3 separate regions of the Homo sapiens genome follow, and regions 2 and 3 are each linked to region 1. The links are contacts of gene promoters, found by promoter capture Hi-C in blood cells and fetal thymus (Javierre and others, 2016). All regions are on one chromosome and are shown on one strand. The core of a region is centred on a gene start or on the middle of the fragment in contact, and the rest is flanking DNA. Distances in the headings are between cores, read along the strand shown.

Region 1 (3,023 bases), core at 260-2,759:
TAGAAAACCTTATGAATTACGTTAAGTAACACACTTACAAACACATAAAAACACTTCTGAGCATCCACATAGTTATTAAGTATGTTAGTGCTTGTCTGGGTGAGCCCTGTCTCTCTATTATCTATATTTACATATTCCTTCATTGGATTCTCTTTCAACAGAGAACTACAGAGCTCAGGATGAGCAGAAACAATATCAAATGTTAGGTCCATGCCCCAGGAATGTTCGCTGTTGGACTCCATAATTGTTCCTAACATCTCCAGTGAATGCAGTACTTTTATAGCAGAGGTAAAAAATGAACAATGCCACTGAACTACACCTGAAGCAACTGTGGGAAGCACTCTATACCTTTCATGGACAGCTTTCTTTCTGTTCTTTCTCTTAAGCACTCCCTCTTCGCCCCCTCTTCCATTTTTCATTTTCCGTAAATCAGCCTGTGGCAGCCATGGACATTGATAACCTCATTGGTGGCGTTTAAGCCCAAGGACATTGCTTCTTTTGTGTTAAAACTATAAAGGGAAGGCATTTATGTGTCATGCTGGTAAAAGTACACTAGACAGTAAGCAGTGGAACACAGGAATTAAGAACTAGGGCTTTGAAGTCCAAAAACCCTGTAATGGAATCATGGGGCAAAATCTTTACAGAATATTTCTGAGGCTTAGGTTTTTGGTAAGTAAAATGAAATACTACTTATTGTATAGTATTATAATTAATGAGCATAAGCCTGCACCTACTAGTCACTAACTACATGACAGACCCTGATATTCAGTGCCTAGATCCACATAAATTACTCTGCATAATATGTTCAATATTGTTAAGCATTATTATTTTGAAGTAATAATAATTGTTATTAATATGAAACACATTACTTCAGTGAAATGGATTTATTAAATAACAATACTGTAGTGGCAAATCAGGTTTAACTAAATTACTACTTATAGAATAAAATGGGTTAAACTGCCTCTTAAAAATTATTGCACAATGAAACACATCTCTCCACGTGCCCAGTACTTACCTTATAATTGTTCTCCTTGAGATCACAGAAGTCTCTGTGCAGCAAGAGGTAAGCTCTGCCGTGCATGATAGGCAGCGGAGGGTCTGACACTTGTCCCCAAATGCCTCAGGTTTACTCTGAGGCAGATGTTTGAAGTTATGGGTCACTTTCCCACACTTAGTAAACTGATATAAGTTACTTGCTTTCTAGAACCTCAGAACGGTACCAAGATAAGCGGCTTCTAAAGTTGGGATATAACAATGACTTTTTCTCCTGACTCCTCTAAACGAGAACTTCCCGAAGGAAGACTTGGGCACTTCCTCATCTGCGGCGTTTCACTGCAGTGCCGGCTCACAGCCCAGTCTCAAGACAAACTTGGATGAGTAACGGAGACAAGCCCATGTCGTCGGCGCGTGAGTGGGAGTGAGAGGTGTACGCCTATCAGGGTCCTAGCAGGTTGTCTTCGCTTCACAGGTGCAACCCCGCAGCCACGCACCGGAGGAAGCAAATCGGTTGCCAACCAACAGGCCCCCGTGGGGCCGCCGAGAGACGGAGGCAGGGGGTTGGCCGCTCTCACCCAATCAGCGACAGGGGGCAGGCCTCTTGCTATCTCCACAGCCAATCCTACAACAGTTTCCCCTTTGAAAGGCCAATGAGATTCGTGGTCAAGGCAACACCACGCCTTCTCAGGCCACGAACATGGACTGTACAAAACTAGTGTAGAGGATGGGGTGAGGTCCCAGGACCCAGCATGTAAGTCACAGAAGCCGTCCCACGAAGTCTTTCTTCGAAATTATCCTTCCTTTTTCTTTGACTATCAAAAGATATAGTAAGTGACTGGTAGGTACAGGTCTGCATAACAATATCTTAACTTACATGGCGAGTTACCATTCACAGTAGTGTGCATGCTATTATGTCATCAAACCCTACAATCACCCTGGGAAAGTGCTCCAGGAACAGGGAACTGCTTAAAATTTCTCTGATTCCCATCTCTTCCCGCACAGTTTCGCACCTGCTGTTCCTTCTACCTAGGAGTTTACCACATTCCTTCCACCCCTTCAGCCCTCATTTCCCCTTCACTCACTCATCCTTCAGATTTTAACGACTCTTTAAGGGATCCTTTCTTTTGTGATCCCACAGGACCTTCTATTTGCCTCCTAGTTAACATTTGCCATACGGCATCACAATTGTCTATTGTCTTCACCAGAGTGGGAACTACTGAAAGACACGGTTCCATTGCCAGCGCCAACTACAAAGCCTGGCATCTTTGTTCAGAATACTTTCTTTTTTTACTTTTTACTTACTAATTTTATAGAATCCGGATGTTCATTTAGTCCATTCATTTTACAAATATTTATTAAATACTTTTTTTTTACTTGAAAGATTCAAATGAAGTAAATGTCTTTATGGCTCCAATATACAATAAACAAGTATGCAAAACAAAAATCATGATTTCAGATGGTGATAAACGTTATGTGGACAATAATAAAACAGTACCATGATAGAGATTGGGGTAGGTCATTAAGGATTAGAAATGGTAGTCAGGAAATGCCTCTGTAAGGAATGGGGTTTTGAACTCATACATGAAAGATGAGAAGGAGCCTGCTACATGAAATATTGAGGGCAGAGAGTTCTAGGAAGAGGAAAACAAGATATTTTTGAGTCAGGAAAGAGCTTGTCTTGAAAAGGGAACAAGGGAAGGTCAGGGAGGTTGTGGAGGAGCCTGGGAGGGGTGTGATAAAGATGGGCACTATACAGTAGGAAGTTTGGGCTTTATTTGAATAGCTATGGGAATCCATTTAATGGGTTTAAACAGGAGAGTGTCATGCTCTGATTTATTTATTTATTTATTTATTTATTTATTTATTTTATTGATCATTCTTGGGTGTTTCTCGCAGAGGGGGATTTGGCAGGGTCATAGGACAATAGTGGAGGGAAGGTCAGCAGATAAACAAGTGAACAAAGGTCTCTGGTTTTCCTAGGCAGAGGACCCTGTGGCCTTCCGCAGTGTTTGTGTCCCTGGGTACTT
Region 2 (2,862 bases), core at 102-2,601, 520 kb after region 1:
TATAGAGAGAATTATTTCTACTCAGCCTCTTATTCTATTCAGGCCTCGACTGAATAAAGTCCATTCACCTTAGGGAAGACAATCAACTTTCCTCAATCCACAAACACAAATGTTCATCTCACCCAGAAACACCCTCCCAGACACACCCAGAGATAATGCTTCACCAAATATTGGGGCACCTTCTGGACCAGCTAAGTTGACACATAAAATTAACCATCACACCAGGGAAAGAATAAGATGACTATGATCATGCAGGGGATCAAGATTTCTGTTTGAGCCCCATGAATTTGAGGTGCCTAAAAGACATCCAAAAAAGTGACAAATGGACAGTGGGATATAGAAGCTTCAAGTTCTGGGATGAGCCCATGGCTGGAGATCTAAATTAGGAATTTACTGATTTAGAGATGGCTTTGAAGCCACAGAACTGGATGATGCCACCTAGTTAGAGGACAGCAAGTGTCCATGGCAGAATCCTGGCACACTCCAAGATACTCCATGTATATTCATTTGCTAGGGCTGCCATAACAAAGCATGAAAAACTGGATGGCTTAGGACAACAGAAGCTTATTGTCCCACAGTTCTGGAGGCCAGAAGTATGAGATTAAGGTGTCAGCAGGGTTGGTTCCTTCCGAGGCTGTGAGGGAGAATCTGTTGCATGCCCCTCTCCTAGCTCCTGGGGGTTGGCTGGCAACCTTCGGTATTCCTTGAATTATAGATGCAGCACCTCAATCTCCACTTTCATGTCCATGTATTGTTCTTGTGTGTATGTCTGTCCCTTGTGTCCAAATCTCCCCTTTTTAGAAGGACACCAGTCATATTGGATTGGGACCACTCTGATGACCTCATTTTAACTCTACTTCTCTGAAGATTCCATTTCCAAATTAGGTCACATTCTGAGGTACTGGAGGTTAGCACTTCAAAATCTTCTTTGTGGAGGATATAATTCATCCCACAATGCCATGCTAATTCTGCTGCCTCTTCTCTCTGCTCTGGACTTACAACCATTTCATTCCATTTCTGTCCAGATCCTGACCCCACATGCTCCTGTTCAGGGTGCCCGTAGAGATATTAGGTTGGTGCAAAAGTAATTGCAGCCTTTGCAATTACTTTTAATTGCAAAAACCACAATTATGAAAAATGCAATTACTTTTGCACTAATATAATAGTTCTGCAGTTTGATCTTTGGATAATTCCAAGAACTCTGGCTCAGCCCTTGTTCTAGTGGTTTGTACTACTGGTCATTGTGGTAAGAGTTCTGTGCCCAACTCTGACTTCTGGGACCCAAAACTTAACATCAACTCACCTGGGCTTCACAAGTTCCCATGAGAAGGGCATGACACCCAAGCACCAAACATACTTAATTTGTTAGAGAATTAGCAACCTACTCAAGGTGAGAAAACACAGTCATCCATAATGAATAAGACAAAGTTTGAGTGGATGGTTTAATTGTCTCCTGAGATAATGAAGAAATAAGAAACATTTAGACAAAATGGGTAAAGCTGTTGTCTTATTCTATTTGTGTTGCTATAAAGGTATATCTGAGACTGGGTAATTTATTTTTTTTAAAGAGGTATATTTGGCTCTCAGTTCTGCAGGCTGTACAGGAAGCATGGTGTCAGCATTTGCTTCTGGTGAGGACTTCAGGCTGCTTCCACTCATGGTGGAAGATCAAGGATAGCCAGTGTGTGCAGAGATCACATGGTGAGAGGAGAAGCAAAAAGAGAAGGGAGGTGGCAGCCTCTTTTTTAGCAACCAGATTTCTCAGGAACTAACAGACTGAGAACTCACTCATCACCGTGAGAACAGCATCAGCCTGTCATGAGGGATCTGCCCCCATGACCCAAATACCTTCCATTAGGTCCCACTTCCAACACTGGGGACCGAATTTCATTGTGAGGCTTGGAGGGGTCATAGCAGCAAGACTTTAGGAAGAGTGCTGAGGGGTACAGAAGAAGGAAACCTGGATGGCGTCACAGATGTGAGTTCTCATGCTTGCTCTGCCACTAACCTTGATCATATCAAGGGTGTCCTTGGTACAATCCACTTTCTCTTTTTGATCCACTCTTGCCTCATCTTTGAAATGCAAATGCCCTCCCAGTTCTAGCCATCTATGATGATAAGGTGGCCCTGGAAGCTTCAGCCTTATGTGACAGGATTGGATGCTGGTAGAGAGGTTGAAAGCAGAGAATCTGCTGGGAGATCTGAAATGGGATGGGCCTGAAGGCGGGCAAGGGCAGTGGAAGTTGGAAGGACTCCTTATGCCCACAGGTGTCCATGTAGATGCTATAGGAAGGCACAGACAAAAAAGCAAGATTTGAGCTCTCTTCTTGAGGGGCTATCAGATCCCTTTGTTCTAGGCTGGGAAATAGGAGCATCTCTTCCTGGACACTGAACATCTTGTGGTTTCCCTGACTCACTGTCTTCTTAATTCCCAGTATTTAATAAGCTCCTCCCTCTGCCTGGAACTCTTTTTCCACTTCTCTTAACAGTTCTGGCGGTGCCAGGTAAAATCCAGGACACTCAGTTAAATTTAAATAATGGAATTATTTTTAGCATTATTTGGGACTTCCTTATGTTAAAAAAATTATTTGTTGTTTATCTGAAATTCAAGTATAACTGGGCATTCTGTATCTTTATTTGAAAAATTTGGCAACCCTATTTTATTTTATTTTATTTACTTTTAAATTTTATTTATTTATTTAATTTGAGACAGAGACTCACTTGCTCTGTTGCCCAGGGTGGAGTGCTGTGGTGCAATCTCGGCTCACTGCAACCTCCCTCTCCCGAGTTCAAGCCATTCTGCCTCAGCCTCCCGAGTAGCAGGGATTACAGGTGTGCACCACCATGCCTGGCTAATTTTTG
Region 3 (2,709 bases), core at 177-2,676, 560 kb after region 1:
TACAGGTGAGGGAGACAGACAGGCAGGTAACACTTTAAATGAGTGAGTTATAATTAGGGTATAAGCCTAGTTCTACTGGCGTATTCTGTCTAGGCTATCCCCAGACATGGGGTGCTACAATCTTCCCCTGTGGGCTTTGCCTACAGGGAAATGTACTCAGTAGCTATGCAAATTAGAATGGGCAGAAAGCCAGAAAGAAAATCTGATCTCCTACACCACAGAACCAAGTTAGGCACCCTGAGAATAAAGCTCCCGAAGTACCCCTGTACTTCACCTTCTATTGCTTTGCACACCTGTAATTCATGGAGCCCTCTATGAGAAGGCCTTGTTCACCATGTGTCCCAGAGTCTAACTCAGTATCCAGGATAAAATCAAAGTTCAATAAATATTTGAGGAATGAATCAATGCAAAATGTGCAAACATGAAGGACTTTTCATATGAAACTAAAAATTAAAAGAAATTTGCAAAGTGTTAATGCTGTATTTCTTTAAGTTATCACTCCTGTATGATACATTAGCACTAGAACCTTTAAAGACAGGACAGGGAAAAAATATTGCTAGCCTCTAGACCTGACCAGATCATAACTTACATATCTCTAAGTGATACCAAGTTCATCATCAACCTGGTTTCCCATCGCTCTTTCCCAAGCCCCCTATTTTCCTGAGGAAGGGTTCAAATGCATGGTATTGTATACTATTCAGTGACTTCACTTTCAAAGTCCCAACAATTCTAAGGTGGGATGGAACTGACAGTCTGCCCTCTACCATTGTGTATAAACATGTACATAATCATCCACGGTTAGGAAGAAAAAACAGCTTTGTACCATGAGATCAACAAACAACAACAGGCTTATCCTGTCCAGTTCTGGTCCCCATTTATCCCTGGTGTTTGTAATGCTGACCTCTGAAGAAGTAAGTGACCTAGCTTCTGTGGTTACCATATCCAGGTGAGAAAGCTGCTGCTCCTCCAGCACAAACAGACTAATGTATAATGTATACAAACAGACTAATGTATAATGTTAGTAATATTCCAAGATTGTTCTGCAGATGCTAGTGGTTTGTTTTACTCGGTGGACCAGTCCTGAAGTTAGACTCCTTTGCACCTCTTTGCAAGCAAACTTCTTTTCTTTTGTAAAAGTGCATTTCTTCCCGCAAAGACCCTGGGGTTCCCAACCCTGGACTGTGGAGTGGAAGTGGTGTTGAGTCATTACAAGGGTCCCAGACTACGGCAAGAGGTGAGGTGTGGATTCTCCATTGAGGTGGGTGGTTCAGCCAGAAAGCAGTGACCAGTCACTATGGTTCCAGCATCATACAGGAATTTACATCAGATACCTTTTAAAGTTCTTTCTTTTCCAATAGCAGGAATCTGTCTAAATGGAAGGTGCCAAGTGAATAGTGTTCATGAACTCATTCAACAAGCGTTTACTGAGCACCTGTTCTATGCTGGGCTCTACGGGAGGCTCGAGGGACACAATGCAGGATAAGACACATAAGATCTCTGTCCTCATGGCATATACAGCCAACAGACATTAATCAAATAACCATAAGTAATTGTAAAATCACAGCTGCAACAAGTACAACAAAGAAGAGGTACATGGTGCCACAAGAGCCAATAATCAGGGGATTTGGCCCACTCTGAAAGGTCAAGGAAACGTTTTTGAGAAATTGTCTCTCCTATCGCCTGGAAAAATACAGAAATAAAGCACTCTGTGCTCAATTAAGCTATAGAATTCAAATGTTTCAAAGTTCATAGAGTCACTAATGTCTACCCTGAGAAACTCTATGAAAGAACTGTTGGAAACATTCACTAGCAAGGGGCGTGGTTGCTAAAAATTAACTCCTCTATAAATAAGAAGATCAGGAGTTCAGTTAAATAAGCCCAGCTGCACTCGTTCACAACAGCGATCTATGGCTATGCAGCCTGGCTGTTTAAATGTTTATCTCAGAAATATTACACAAAAATTTTCTTTTTTTGAAGAGAGAGAGAGAGAAAGAGCTTGTGATTATCCTCATGATAATGAAGAGCATTCTCTCTTTGGACATGAAATATACCAAGGAGAAGCTAAAACCATGATTGGTACTAGGTATTTGTTGAATGTGTTAATAAATGAGAACAAACTTTAACAATAGTCTAAAGTCTAATACTTTGGTTCAAAGAAATCAATTCCACAAACATAACATGAGAGACTTCCCTTGGCAAATAGTTCTAGGTAAAAACTTTAAGGGTTTAATTACCCACAACCTTATGTGGGCTAAACAGTATTATGCAACTTCCTAAAAACTAACATAAAGGAAAGTTATGTCAAGAAAAATACAGTGTCCTAATCACTAGAAATAATCATCCCACCCCACTCTTCACTTGCCAGGCCAACCCTGGAAGATTTGGGCTCAGTTCTGGGCATCACCTTCTAAGAGTGGCACTGGCAAACTCAGAAGCACCTAGAGTCTGGCACTGAGTCTATAAACAATGTGAAATGAGGAATGACTGGAGGAAACAAAGATGGACGGCCTGAAGAAGGAAGGACCTGAGAGCTGCTTCTTGTATTTGAAGGCCTGTTGTGTAAGAGGAGCAGCTTGTGCTATCCTGTCTTCAGGCCTGTTCCCTGTGGGTCAGCACCAGGGATTCCTACTTGGCTCTGGGGCTCTGATCCCTCTTGACCAAGGCTTCCCACATGGGTCTGTGGAAAAAGAAGTTACTGTACATACTACG

What was found. The method cuts DNA at HindIII sites, captures the fragments that hold promoters and counts their contacts. A CHiCAGO score of 5 or more calls a contact.
Region 2: a contact is called between a fragment that was not itself captured here and the fragment with the promoter of UBE2U in region 1, in 3 of 17 cell types (endothelial precursors, non-activated CD4 T cells and fetal thymus). The highest score is 9.2, in endothelial precursors.
Region 3: a contact is called between a fragment that was not itself captured here and the fragment with the promoter of UBE2U in region 1, in 1 of 17 cell types (naive B cells). The highest score is 6.5, in naive B cells.

Annotation. Positions count from the first base shown.
Region 1 is chr1:64,202,109-64,205,131 of GRCh38, reverse strand. It overlaps UBE2U (ubiquitin conjugating enzyme E2 U), which reads right to left and starts at 1,509. Exons shown (of 10, transcript NM_001366232.2): 1 at 1,016-1,509. The coding sequence starts at 1,081. The HindIII fragment of the contact is 16,836 bases long and covers 1-3,023 here.
Region 2 is chr1:63,678,817-63,681,678 of GRCh38, reverse strand. The region is part of intron 1 of LOC105378771 (a long non-coding RNA gene); the gene reads right to left. Among named protein-coding and RNA genes, the nearest start is that of PGM1, 87 kb to the right of the region's middle. The HindIII fragment of the contact is 1,571 bases long and covers 566-2,136 here.
Region 3 is chr1:63,640,563-63,643,271 of GRCh38, reverse strand. All of the region lies in intron 7 of PGM1 (phosphoglucomutase 1), which reads right to left. Among named protein-coding and RNA genes, the nearest start is that of PGM1, 49 kb to the right of the region's middle. The HindIII fragment of the contact is 5,978 bases long and covers 1-2,709 here.